5 separate regions of the Homo sapiens genome follow, and regions 2, 3, 4 and 5 are each linked to region 1. Evidence: promoter capture Hi-C in 16 types of primary human blood cells and fetal thymus (Javierre and others, 2016). All regions are on one chromosome and are shown on one strand. The core of a region is centred on a gene start or on the middle of the fragment in contact, and the rest is flanking DNA. Distances in the headings are between cores, read along the strand shown.

Evidence for each region. The method cuts DNA at HindIII sites, captures the fragments that hold promoters and counts their contacts. A CHiCAGO score of 5 or more calls a contact.
Region 2: a contact is called between a fragment that was not itself captured here and the fragment with the promoter of MTCL1 in region 1, in 1 of 17 cell types (M1 macrophages). The highest score is 5.1, in M1 macrophages.
Region 3: a contact is called between a fragment that was not itself captured here and the fragment with the promoter of MTCL1 in region 1, in 2 of 17 cell types (naive B cells and fetal thymus). The highest score is 5.3, in naive B cells.
Region 4: a fragment that was not itself captured here is called in contact with the fragment with the promoter of MTCL1 in region 1 in 3 of 17 cell types (endothelial precursors, naive B cells and megakaryocytes); the score reaches 6.7 in endothelial precursors.
Region 5: a fragment that was not itself captured here is called in contact with the fragment with the promoter of MTCL1 in region 1 in 1 of 17 cell types (total B cells); the score reaches 5.7 in total B cells.

Annotation. Positions count from the first base shown.
Region 1 is chr18:8,704,176-8,706,875 of GRCh38, reverse strand. MTCL1 (microtubule crosslinking factor 1) reads right to left here and starts at 1,320. Exons shown (of 15, transcript NM_001395333.1): 1 at 163-1,320. The coding sequence starts at 1,215. All of the region lies in intron 1 of GACAT2 (gastric cancer associated transcript 2), which reads left to right. RefSeq lists silencers at 1,096-1,155, 1,536-1,975. The HindIII fragment of the contact is 5,801 bases long and covers 1-2,700 here.
Region 2 is chr18:9,037,767-9,040,466 of GRCh38, reverse strand. No RefSeq gene overlaps it. Among named protein-coding and RNA genes, the nearest start is that of NDUFV2, 64 kb to the left of the region's middle. The HindIII fragment of the contact is 3,394 bases long and covers 1-2,700 here.
Region 3 is chr18:9,096,553-9,099,297 of GRCh38, reverse strand. No RefSeq gene overlaps it. Among named protein-coding and RNA genes, the nearest start is that of NDUFV2, 4.8 kb to the left of the region's middle. The HindIII fragment of the contact is 374 bases long and covers 1,091-1,464 here.
Region 4 is chr18:9,012,186-9,014,885 of GRCh38, reverse strand. No RefSeq gene overlaps it. Among named protein-coding and RNA genes, the nearest start is that of NDUFV2, 89 kb to the left of the region's middle. The HindIII fragment of the contact is 2,563 bases long and covers 11-2,573 here.
Region 5 is chr18:9,187,477-9,190,176 of GRCh38, reverse strand. All of the region lies in intron 2 of ANKRD12 (ankyrin repeat domain 12), which reads right to left. Among named protein-coding and RNA genes, the nearest start is that of ANKRD12, 52 kb to the right of the region's middle. The HindIII fragment of the contact is 181 bases long and covers 1,182-1,362 here.

The DNA of each region.
Region 1 (2,700 bases), core at 71-2,570:
TTGGGCTTAAGTTGCCAATGCCTGACAATGCGGGGGTAGGACCGTGGAGAGCAGGAGGGAGAAGGCGCTGGACAGGCCCGGGAAGGAGGGGTTGGCGGGTCCCCGCCGCAGCCAGGCCCTCCGGGGGCGCCCCGGGACACCTGCGGCCGAGGCGCGGCTCACCTTGAGATAGTCGTTCTCCGAGCGCAGCTCCTCCATCTCCCGCAGCAGCTCTTCTTCCTCCGCCGCTGGCACGAGCCGAGACTGCTCGCCCAGGCTGGGCTCCTTGGGGGTCCCGGGGACTGGTCGCTCCGGTGGCGAGCGCCCCCGGACATCCTCCGCCACGCCGGGCCCCGCGAAACCCCCCGAAACCCCGCTCGGGATGCTCCGGCCCCCGGGACAGGCGCCCGCGGCGAGGGGCGCGGCGAGGAGCGCTGGGGGCTCGGGGCTGCCCGGCGGCGCTCCTCGGGCTGCGGGGCTCGGCGTCGGCGCTCCTCGTGGGGGTTCACGGTCGCTGGAGCCCGTGCCGGATTCGGCGTCGCTGCTGGCGGCAGGGAGCAGGCGCTGCTCGTCGGACAGGGGTTCGGAGGGGCAGTCAGAGAGGTCGGAGCTGCTGTCCGTGTGGCTGATGCGCGAGCAGCGGGCCGGGGACCCGGCCACCGAGGTCACCGCGAGGGTCACGGCAGGGATCCGGGCGGCCGGGGTCGGGGGGCCGACGGTGCGGGCGGGTGGCGCCCGGGAGCCGCGCTTGGCTTTGCGGCCCTTGGCAGCGGCAGACGGCGGCTCGGCTCCGGGAGGCTTCCCAGCCCGGGACAGCGGCTCCGCGGGCGCCACGCGCGCCGCCCTCCTGCTTCCCAGGGCAGCCTTGGCACCGCCCGCCGCTCTGGCCCCGGCGCCCGGCGGGGGCTTGTCCTTCGCGCCCGGGACGCCGCCACTGCGCCGAGAGAGGCGGCCGGGCGCGGCCAGGGACCCCGGCGAGGGCGGCGCTTTGCCCGCGAGGTTGGGCGAGCGCGGGGCGGCGGGAGCCGGGGCTCGGCCCGAGGAGGGGACGGCCGGGCCGGGCGCGGCGGGCCGGGCGTGCAGGTCCTTGAGGAAGGGTCTGGCGGGCGAGGGCGCACGGTGCAGCCGCCGCCTTTCGGCCACCGGGTGGAGGTGGTGGTGGCGGTGGTGCTGGCCGGGCGGCTGCAGCTTCGCGTCCGGGGCACCTCCGCCCGCGGGGCCGTTCAGTGTCTCCATGGCCGGGTCCGCCGGCAGCAGCTCAGGCAGCAGATGCTCCGGACGACGACGGCGGCGGCGGCGGCGGCGGCGGCGTGCAGCCTCCCCGCGCGCTCTCTCATCACTGTCCCAGCCCCGCCCGGGCTGCGCCCCGCGCTCCCGCCGTCCCCGCCCCCCGCACCCCGGCCCCGAGGATTCCCGCGGGGCTCGCCGCCGCCGCGCTCGCCCCTCGCTGAGGTCACCGCGGATCGAGTTCTCCCGGCTCAGCAGCGCGGCGGCTCCCGGCCGCTCGCATCCCCGGACCTCGCGCTCCGGGCTCGCGGTCACCGGTGCCGCGGCGGCGCTGGCGGCGCGCGCCCGGCTCCCGCGTCCCGCTCCCCGCCCACCGCCGGCCCGCTGCTGCCCGTGCCCGCCCCCGCCGCTCCCGGCTGAGAGAAGCCGCACGCGCGCGCCCCACCTCCCCGCCGCCCAGCGCCCTCGCCCAGGCCCGTGCGCATGCCCCGCCTCCAGCCAGCCGGCGCCGTGCAGGGGAGGGGCGAGGGAAGGGGCGGGGGCTTGCGCTCCCCGGGGGGCGGGCGCCCGGCAGGGGCGGGACCTGCGCGCCCTTGGGAGCAGGCGCAGGCTGGATCCATGGGGCCTCGCTGCCCGGGGACCCTCCTTGCTTTTTGAGGCCCTAGAGACGCTGCCAGGAGCTAGGGAGGAAGGGAAGAGGCGGAGGTGAAGTGGTGGCAAGGGGCGGCGCCGGCCACTTGGGGAAGGCGTGTGCCGCGGCTGACAACACCCCTCTCATGCCTCTCCATCCACCGCCCGCCTCCCCGAGGCCAGTCACCTCCCTCGCTGTCCTCTCCAAGCTGTGCCCCTGGTCCCCGAGCTCCTTTAAGGATCGCTGGTACCCGACGCAGCTCTCGCGTCTAAACGGCACGGCGGGCGCTCCACAGTTGGCACCCCCGTGGCCTCGGGAGCTCAGGAGGAGCTGCTGCCCAAACAGGAGGAGCCCTCGCCAAACCTGGGGGTCAGAAAGGGAACTCACATTTATAGTTCCGGCTGCGAGCCAGGCCTGCTGGCCACTTACTGAGCAGTGTTTTATTTAAGCCTCACCACAGTCCCAGATTGGAATTGCTGTCTTCGGTGAAGACTAGGGCACCGGCGCTGGGAGGTGAAGTCACTTGCCTGCGATGCCTCACCCAGTCCCTAGCTGAGCGGGTTTAAACCCAGGTCTTCAGGATTCCGAGTCCTGCAGGCTTTCCGCTCAGAGCCCGGAGCCCGGCCACCGGTTCTACCACTTGAGTCTCCCATGCGCAAGGCACTAGACCTTTCTGAGCCCCAGTTCCCTCGCCTGTATCATTAAAACGTACTGCCACCTGAGCATGTGTGAAGATTTAGCAAATACCAGAACACACCGTGCAAACTGTAAAGTACAGTTCACATACCATTGGGTGCAGTTTATGTCCCAGGCGTTGGATGTTGGCCAGTGCCCATAGGAATAGGGGCCAGCCTGTCCTCCAG
Region 2 (2,700 bases), core at 168-2,667, 330 kb before region 1:
TACTCTGTTTTCTGTCTCTGTCGTTTAAAAAAAATTATGTTTATTTTACTGTGGTAAGAACACCTAATATGAGAGCTGCCATTTTAATAGTTTTTTTTTCTTTTTTTGAGACAGAGTCTCGCTCTGTCGCCAGGCTGGAGTGCAGTGGCGCGATCTTGGCTCACTGCAACCTCTGCCTCCCGGGTTCAAGTGATTCTGCCGCAGCCTCCCAAGTAGCTGGGACTACAGGCACCCAACACCACGCCCAGCTAATTTTTGTATTTTTAGTAGAGATGGGGTTTCACCATGTTGGCCAGGATGATCTCGATCTCTTGACCTCGTGATCCACCCACCTCAGCCTCCCAAAGTGCTGGGATTACAGGCGTGAGCTACCACGCCTGGCCAGTTTTTTCTTTTACTGTGGTGTCTGTCTCATTTTGGCATCAAGATAATGCTGGCTTCATAAAATGAGTTTGGAAGTGTTTTCTATTGTCCATCATTTTGTTGTTAACCTTTCTAATTTAGTATATACAAGAAGAACAATGCAAAAAATCGTACTGATGCTGAAAGTTACTAAGTAAAACCTGCTAAAATGGCACCTGGGTACTGTTGCCATGGGGACAGGCTAGGAGAGGAATGAATGTAGCTTGAATTCTTAGAAAGACAATATTGAGTTGCTCTTCAGTAAACTTGTGATGAAAATACCTTAAATGTGGGCACTTGGTTGCTATTTTTTAACAAAAACAAACAAAAAGTGGCAGCAGCATTAACAAGGACAAAGAACATCACCAAAATCCTAAATCAAATAACTTCAGCTCAGTTGACCTTTGATTTGTGTGCACTTGTTCCTTATGATAATTACCTAAGTTCTTCTGCAAAGCAGTGAGCCTGGGGGCCATGACATCTAACGTGGTTGCAAATTAAACCCTCACTCCCAACCCAGCCTCCTCAGCTTCTGTCTCTGAAGAAAATACGGGATTTACCTAACATCTCTTCAAATAGTGTATATTGAACTGGAAGACAAAAAAGGAATTTTGCATGTTAAGCTGCAGCTGGCATAAGAAACACATTCATTCTATCAGAAAATTGGGTAATCTGGATTATAGTCCTGGCTTTGGCACTGCCATTGGCATAGCAATGTATTTGTGTGTGTGTGTGTGTGTGTGTGTGTGGCGGGGCGGGGGGGCAATTTATAAGTATCTGCAGTTCTCAGCCTCCACCTTCCAAGGAGGAAGGGTGCTTTGTACAGACTGGAGTTGTATTATGCATATCCCTGAAAGGATGAAGTTGAGAGAGTTGGATGGAGCTGAAAATGCCAAAACAATTTACATTTGAAAGAAACAAATACAATATTCCTCAGAGAGGACCGGTTCTGAACAGATGAAAGGAGGAATAAAAAAAGAAACCAAACCAAATGAAGCTGATTTGGAGAGATGGAAAAGTATAGGGAAGAAAGGACTTTTTTTCTTTTTCTTTTCTTTTCTTTTCTTTTTTTTTTTTAAAGACAGGGGCTTGCTCTGTTGCCCAAGCTGGAGTGCAGTGGCATGATCTTGGCTCATTGCAACCTCCGCCTTCTGGGCTCAAGTGATCCTTCCACCTCAGCCTCCTGAGTACCTGGGATTACAGGCGCAGGCCACTAGGCCCGGCTAATTTTTGCATTTTTATAGGACAGGGTTTCGTCATGTTGCCCAGGCTGGTCTCAAACTCCTGGGCTCAAACATTCACCCGCCTTGGCCTCTGAAAGTGCTGGGATTACAGGCATGAGCCACTGCTCCTGGTGGAGAATTTCTTTAAGTTTACATACAGTGGAATGCACCCATTATAAATGTACTATCTGATGAGTTTTGACAATCGTACTGTTAAAATCATGGGAGGCCACTATTTTAGTCTGAACTCCTGTGCTAGGCCCCAACAGACCAGACCAAACCAAAATAGAGTCACTTATGCTAAATGCCACATAATCAAACTGAAACTTCAAGGAAGCAAGCAGATAGATCCCCAAACAGACCAGTTTTTCCTGAGAACAGGAGATTCCAGTCTACCTGAGTCAGCATAATAAGGCAGTCTCTCTGCTTTAACCTTTAGAAAAAAAGTAATGTGATATTAATCAGTGCTATTGTTCTGTTTCCTTGTTTTCATCTTACAAACCCCAGTGTTCTTCCTTAGCTCGGTGGGAGCTCTCATCCTATTTTGTAGAACGGAGGCTGTCCCAATTCACAAGTTTTGAACAAAGCTAAACAGCTTTATAACCAAATTTGTTATAATTTTGTCTGTTGACAGTATACAGCTATGTAATTACTACTGTGACTAAGATGAGCATTTCTGTCACTTCACAAAAGTTCCCTTCTGCCCAGTCTTCTTTCTGTCACTAAAGGTTAGATTTGTCTTTTCTCATTTCATATTAATAGAATCACACAGTATGTACTATTTTGTGGCTTCTTTTGCTCATTGTAATATTTTTGAGATTCATCTGTGTATCAGTAATTTGGTCCTTTTCATTGCTGATGTGTTTATTGCAGGGATATATACAACTTGTTTATCTATTCATCTACTGATAAACATTTGAGTTGTTTTCTGTTTGGGACTATTATGGCTAACGCTATGATCATTAGTATACAGATTCTTGGACATCAATTTTTATTTCTCTTAAAGAAAATACTTAAAACTGCAATAGGGCTGGGCGTGGTGGCTCACGCCTGTAATCTCAGCACTTTAGGAGGC
Region 3 (2,745 bases), core at 28-2,527, 390 kb before region 1:
GCAAAAAGAGAAGATGGGGCCGCCACTTTGAACATGCCTCATCCCAGGTAGTATATTCCTATGGGCACAACTGCCAGAATTCACCTGTGCAAGCTCCTAGTTTGCTTGTCTGTCTGCAGCTCGATTTTACAGGCTGCTCTTTGTTAGAAAAGAAAATGATTGGCGGCTGCTTTTTATTAAAAGGGAAACCTTACTGAGGACTCCCATACCCTCACTATCTGCCTAAGCAATTTCTTCTTAACTCCTGTATCGAAATGAGTTGATACCTTTTAAAGTTCTTTAAAAAGTACCTAGCACAGAGTAAATGCTTAGTAAGTGTTAGCCTTCATCATCATCATCACCATCATCAGAATAGAACATTACAATATTAAGATAATTAAGCCACTAATCAGAAAGGAGAATGGAAGGGCTAGTTTGGGGCCCATTAGCTCCTGAACAAAATAGCTCTGCCAGCAAGGAAGGGGCTGAAGAAGTAAATCTAGGTAGGCAACTAACGGGATCATCCACAGTAGACCACCGTCTTTTTGAGTTCATGACCTATAGAGAAAGTGTATATCCCACTGGTGCCTGACACTAATCAAGGACTTACCAGGTGCCCCCAATTTCTATTACCTAGGAACAGAACCAAAAAGTGCAAAGAGTAATGTTTAAAACATTAAGGATGTGTGCTAAGGGAGTGTCTAACCTGTTAACACCTTCTTGAAGATGTTACAGAAAGTAAGATGCTTTTAGTTCAATTCAACTTTATTTCAATTCAACTGCCAGTAAGTGTGGCACCACACTGTTCACCAAGTCAAAAGACTTGTTAATGTCCAGCATGACTTTGGCTTATCCTTAGCCCAAATATTTATTAAGTGAGAATGTCAGAATGGATATCTTTTACACCCAGTAACGTAAGTTAATTTCTGGAGCCACTCCACTTATAAAGTAGCCTCATGTGCAATCAACTATTCTCAGAGTCCTTAGGATAGAATTGTGGGGGCTGTTTGGAAAATTCCTCTTCTTCCTCCCACTATCAAAGTCATTATTTCTGGACACAGACCAGCATGGACATCGATGATTTCAAGTTACTGACCTAACCCTACAAGCTTGATTGAAATTGGCTTGATTATGTAATGAACCCATAGTGAACATCATGGCTGCCTGGTTTGATATATTCCACTATTCTAAGTTGGCACTAGTACCATAAGCCCAGGGAAATTGGCCCTAACTATAGTGGTCAAGCCATTAAATAAAGAATGTGTGGGTGTTGGGGGTGGGGAGTGAGGGACTGGAGGCTGGGGGAGCTAGAATAAAGTCTACAGGGATGACCAAATGTGGGAACTTTGACTCTCTCATTCTTGATTTCTTAGCCATTTAAACCATCACACATAGGCACTATCAAGGACGTGGTGTAATGAAAATCATGAGCTTTGTAATTGGATTTGAATTCTGACCTCGTCACTTACTCGCCTTTGTGAAGCTTTGGTTCTCAGTTTCTGAAAGTATAATTAGAACATTAAATCATTCAGTTTATGGAAAATGATGAACATGGTGCCTGGTACACAGTAAGAGTTCAGAAAAGCTTTGGGTTTTTGTTTTTGTTTTTTGTTTTTTTTTCAGTATCTAACAACTTGTCTGCTCCATCTATGGAACACTTTAGTCAGGCTTTCTAAATTGTGATTAACTCCTAAGTCACATCCTACTTATTAAAGCAGCCACAGGTAGATCGTGCACTCTGGCTCTCAGCATGCCCTCACATAACAATACTGACGTGCCTGCCTTGCTGGGTTTTCTAATGAAAAATGTGAGCTGCAGGCCCAGTCCTGCTTTGCAGGGAAAGGGAGCCAGTTGGTATAAAGTCAAAACTCAATGGAAGGGAAAAATGGGATAAGGTTACTGCTGGGTGAGAGACAGAGAGAGAGAGAAGTATTTCCAGCAGGAAATTGGAGCATGTAAAGAAGAATGATCCGGTCACATTGGTAAACTGAAGTGTTAGACCCATTTCACATTGAGGTGAGGGGGGACGTGAGGTTAGCGAGTGAGTTCTGCATGATTCTTTCAGATTCTTCTCAAGTTATTCTTGCATATTCGAGACCAAAAGGGAAAATGAAAATCAAAACAGCCAGTAACTTAATTACATAGACTTCAAGAACAGATTGTTTTAAAAAAATAATATAAGCAGAACGTCACCTAAGCCATTATCAGATTCACATCGCTCGTTACTTCCCCAACATGGGACTGATCCTAGCAGCTTCTGCAGCTGAAGTGAAATTTTCTATCAGAATTTGATCCATGCTTCCCTAGCAAGTAGTCAAAGTAATTAAACAACAATGAATGTAATTCTTGCCTGATAGATTTGCAAATTGCTGATCACTGTTGTTGGTAATGTGTGGAGCTACATGCTCTCATTGGTGATGGTAGGAGTGTGATAAGATCAGCCTCTGGAGAGGGTAATTTGGCAATATGTGTTCGGTTTCTTAATATGAATTTATCCTAAGGAAGTAACTGAAAAAGTATACAAAAATGTTTATCATGGTGTTATTTGTAATACTGAAAACCTGGAAGCTATATAAATGACATCGGTAGAGAATTTATTAAATAACAGTACAGCCATACAATGGGATATTGCTCTGCAGATTTAAAAATAATAATGAAAATATTTATTGTAAAGAAAAGATGCCCATAATGTGTGGCAACTTAATAAAAAAAAGATTACAAAACATCACATATAACATTACTACATTTTCTGTATATGCATAGGAA
Region 4 (2,700 bases), core at 43-2,542, 310 kb before region 1:
ATGGGAAGCTTGAATGAGCCATTTATCTGTCAGCTTCTCCCATCTCCCAACTCTCACTGGTCCATGTTCCTTCCTTGGGGTGTTATCTCCCCCATGTTTCTGAGTGTGTTACTCTGTGTTCCTCTGGGCAGCCCCCCGGGGCAGTCAAAGCCCGTGGGGGTCTGCTTGACTCCCACCTGGGTGCTGGGGCTGTAGCTACAGAGGACGTAATGGTGGTCATGTTCCTCTGCCAGGGGAGGCTGAGTGCTGGGTGGTGGTGTGGCAACTGCACCTGCTCCTGGAATAAGCAGCAGAGGCACAGACATCAGGTGGGGACAAGCAGATCTCAGAGGTGCACCTGCTGGTATGGTGCAGTACTTTTATGCTAATGGACAACGGGATATCTTCCTTAGGAAATTGTATTTGTATTTGTTGGGAAATTACTACCATATACTGATTTTTGGTAGTACAAGATATGTTGCTTCCATATGCCAGGAAACTGTCACGATAAATACACATGACATGCCTACAATGTGAAAAGTCCCCTTAGGTGTAATGTCCTTGTGCAGTATTCAACAATGTACAACTGTCCATGGCCTTGAACTGGCCTCATGGGCCCAGTATAAGAGTAGGCTGCCATAGAAAGGTCTCTCCACAAAGTTCATTCACATTTCAATGGAGAGTTGACTTGTTGAAACTGAACACAAAGCTCTTCAGGTTTGCCCCAGAATTCTGGAAGGTGAATCTCCAAGTGGGAATAGATAATGAATGAATGAATAAAATAGTCCAGTCACAGAGATGCCTTCTTTTTCTCATTCCTCTCTATCACCCAAGAACAAAGTAAAGAATTGTTTCCTAGTGTTCCCTGGACGCATGAAACTTGACAACAATGCGGCAAGGTGGTAGGCCTTATTTTTCATGTTTTTTTTTTGTTTGTTTTGTTTTTTTTGTTCTTGAGACAGGGTCTCCCTCTGTCACCCAAGCTGGAGTGCAGTGGTGCGATCTCGGCTCACTGCAACTTCCACCTTCCAGGTTCAAGTGATTCTCCTGCCTCAGCCTCCCAAGTAGCTGGGATTACAGGTGTCTGCCATCATGCCTGGCTAATTTTTGTATTTTTGTAGAGATGAGGTTTCACCATGTTGGCCAGGCTGGTCTTTAACTCCTGACCTCAGGTAATCCTCCTGTCTCGGCCTCCCAAATTGCTGGGATTACAGTCGTGAGCCACCTCGCCCGGTGTAGGTATTATTTTCCATGTTTTTTTTTTTTTTTTTTGTGAGACAGGGTCTTGCTCTGTCACCCAGGGTGGAGTGCAGTGGAGCCATCACAGCTCACTGCAGCCTAGACCTCCTGGACTCAAGTGATCCTCCCACTTCAGCCTCCCAGGTAGCTGGGACTACAGGTGTGCACCACCATGTTGGCTAATTTATGTATTTTTTTTTTTGTAGAGACAGGTTTTGCCATGTTTCCCACTCTGGTCTTGAATTTCTCAGTTCAAGCAATTTACTTGCCTCAGCCTCCCAAAGTGCTAAGATTACAGGCGTGAGCCGCTGTGCCTGGCCATTTTTCATGATTTTACACATGAGGAAACTGAGGCCCAGAAATGTTAATCTGGCAAGTGTGTGATCGTAGCCAAGATCAGAAAAGGCAGGTCTTCTGATCTGAATTCAAGTAGTGTGAGTTACACTAAATCAACTTTTCTCTTGATAAAACAGCTAAAAGCTCAGTCACTTACCCTGGATCATTCATATCATCTCTATAGTGTCATCTCCCTACTTAAAGGCCATCTTAGCAATCATTATGTCAGATTGTCAAGATTCCCTAGTTTTCACTCATTCATTCATTCCTTCATTCCTTTATTCACTTCATATGTGCTATGGTTTGGATACGGTTTGTTTGGCCCCACCAAATCTCATGTTGAAATTTAATCCCCAGTGGAGGTGGGGCCTGGTGGAAGGTGTTTGGATTGTGGGGGAGGATCCCTCATGGATGGGTTGGTGCCTGTCTGGTGGGAGTGAGCGAGCTCTCACTCTTAATTCCCAAGATAATCGGTTGTTGAAAAGAGCCTGGCACCTTCTCCTCTCTGTCTGTCTGTCTCTCTTTCTCTCGCTTCTTCTCTCACCATGTCGTCTGTACATGCCAGCTTGCCTTTGCCTTCCACCATGTGTGGAAGCAGCCTGAAGCCTCACTAGAAGCAGATGCTGGCACTATGTTTTCTGTACAGCCTGCAGGACCATGAGACAAATAAACCTCTTTTCTTTATGAATTACCCAGCTTCAGGTATTTTTTTAAATAGCAACACAAATGGACTAAGACAAGTATTTACTGAATTTCTGCTACTATGTGCCAGACTCTGTTCTCTAGATAAGTAAATAAATATGATTTTCATTGCTTTTATGACAGAAATAATGTGGAAATCATGTAGGCAATTCTTCTTAGCCAATGAGAGAAAGAATAGACTCATAAGATTACAGTGGAAGTACTCCATCGGTGGTCCCGTTTCCATCAGTTTTCTAGGTTGGAGAGAGGCAGAAGACATGAATTTTCTGGAAATGTTATAGAGACAGAGGCAATAGACAGAGACAGGACAGGAAGCTTAATGAGGGTCTTAAAAAAACCAGAACAGGCCAGGTGCGGTGGCTCACGCCTGTAATCCCAGCACTTTGGGAGGCTGAGGCGGGCGGATCATGAGGTCAGGAGTTTGAGACCAGCTTGACCAACGTG
Region 5 (2,700 bases), core at 23-2,522, 480 kb before region 1:
TCCACTAAAGTCTTGACCCTCTCAGTCATCCATGAGTGTTAGAATCAACTTTTCCAAACTCTGGTTAATATTGGTATTTTGACTTCCTCTCATGAATCACAAATGTTTTTAATGGCATCTAAAATGGTGAATCCTTTCAAGATGGTTTTCAATTTTTTTGCCCAAATCCATCAGAGGAATCACTCTCTATGGCAGCTACAGCCTTACAAAGCATACTTCTTTAATAAGACTTGTTTAAAAAGTTAAAATTATTCCTTGACCTATGGGCTGCAGAATGGACTGCATGTCAGCAGCCATGAAAACAACATTATTCTCTTTGTATGTCTCTGTCAGAGCTCTTGGGTGACAGCTCACTGACATGTTGTCAATGAGCAGTAATATTTTGAAAATAATCCTTTTTTCTTAGTAAGTCTCAACAGTAGGCTTAATCTATTCAGGAAACCATGCTGTGAACAGATGTGCTGTCATTAGGCACTGTTTTTCCATTGATAAGGTACAGGCAGAGTAAATTTCACGTAATTCTTATGGGTCTTGGCGTTTTTGCAATGGAAAAAGAGCACTGGCTTTAACTTAATAGTTGTCAGCTGCATTTGTCCCTAACAAGACAGTGAGCCTGTCCTCTGAAGCTTTGAAGCCAGGGATTGACTTCTCCTCTCTAGCTTTCAAAGTCCTACATGGTATCTTTTTCCAATAGAAGGCTATTTCATCTATACTGAAATCTGTAGTTTAGTGTAGCCATCTTCATCAAAGATCATAGCTAGATCTTCTGGATAACTTGCTGTAGCTTCCACATTAGCACTTGGTGCTTCACCTTGCACTTTTATGTTATGGAGACAGCTTCTTTCCTTAAACCTCATGAACCAACTTATGCTAGCTTCAGACTTTTCTTCTGCAGCTTCCAAACCTCTCTCAGCCTTCACAGAATTGAGGAGAGGGCCTTGATCTGGATTGAACTTTGGTTTAAGGGGATGTTGTAGCTGGTTTGATCTTCTATCCAGACCACTCCAAACTTCCTCCATATCAGCAATAAGACTGTTTTGCTTTCTTATGGTGTGTTCACTTTAACAGCACTTTTAGTGTTCTTCAAGAACTTTTCCTTGGCATTCCTCTCTTGGTTAACTGGCACAAGAGGCCTAGCTTTTGACCTCTCTCAGCCTTTGACATACCTTCCTCACTAAGCTTAATCATTTAGAGCTTTTGACTTAAAATGAGAGACATTCCACTCTTCACTTGAATACTTAGAGACCACTGAAACACAACAATTTCAAAATTGTTGTTTTAGGAAATAGGAAGGCCCAAGGAGGGGCGGAGTTGGGAGAGAAGCCAGTAAGTGGAGCAGTAGAACACATACAACATTAAGCTTGCCATCTTTTCTGCATACAGTGTGGTGCCCACAAAACAACTACAACAGTAACAAAGATCACTAATCATCATCATGATAATGAAAAAGTTGGAAATATGAAAATTATCAAGATGTGACATAGAGACAAGTGAGTACATGCTGTTGGAAAAATGTTGCCAATGAACTTGCTCAACACAGGGTTGCCACTAACCTTCAATTTGTAAAAAGCACAATTATCTGCAAAGCACAATAAAGTGAAGTGCAATAAAATGAGGTATGCCTGTAAACCAAAATGTTAATAGCTATCTGTAGGTGGTGCCATTACAGCTGTGTTGGGACATAATTCTCCATGTCTCTCTTGCATTTTTGCACATGTTGCGAGCAGACACACTAATTTCCTTTGTCCTGGACTATCTTTTCATGGGTATTTGTATGATAAACAGCCTCGAAAGACAGAGGTAGTGTCTCCCTCTAAAGCTAAGGACATACCTGTTTGCTGTCCAGTGTAATAATGTCTCCTTCTAGGGAAAAGTTCAGGCAGACTTACTGCCCATCATAAAAGATTTGGGGTTCCTACCCTGTAATACAACCCACTGCATATGCAGTTGTCATCTGCCCATCACTGCATCCCCCTTGTGAGAAGCGAGGCTCAGGGAACAGGCACAAACAATGATACTCTGGCTACTGCTATTGCTGAATAGCAAATATTCCTTCATCACTGACCTAGGAATTGTGTCTTCTGCCAGCATCCATGAAGCTAATTAGCTTACAAGTAGGGTAAAATCTCAGAACCTTCACAGTTGTTGACAAGGTAATAGGTAATTTCTATTTTCATTATTCTTATATGTATTTTCTAATTTTTTACAACAAACATGTATTATAATACTTGGATAATAAAAGAAAAAATTCTCAATAGTCACTTGGAGAGGAAATAATGAATGTCTGAACTACACTGATGACGAAAAGGATATAACAGAACTATTCAGATGGTTAAAATAATTAATATCCCCTCTCTCACATTTTATGAATTTAACCAGGTTTTAGACTATCTTAACAGAGTTTATAAAAGATTCTGCTTTGCAAATTTTAAATACTGATTTATAGCTAAAAGAGTAGTGGAGACATTTCTAAACTAAACTAGAATCAATGGGGGGAAAAGACCACAGATGAGCAGTGAAAGGTGTGAACATTCTTGTCAAAATCCTAACTATTTTAATATTTAATGAGAGGACTTTACATAAAAATTAAATTGCTATAAAATACAATTACTTAAGTTATGCTCTACTTAAATGAATTTAAGGAGTGAAATTTTGGTTTAGGTTATTTTATTAATTTAGGACCTCATAACAGCAATATTC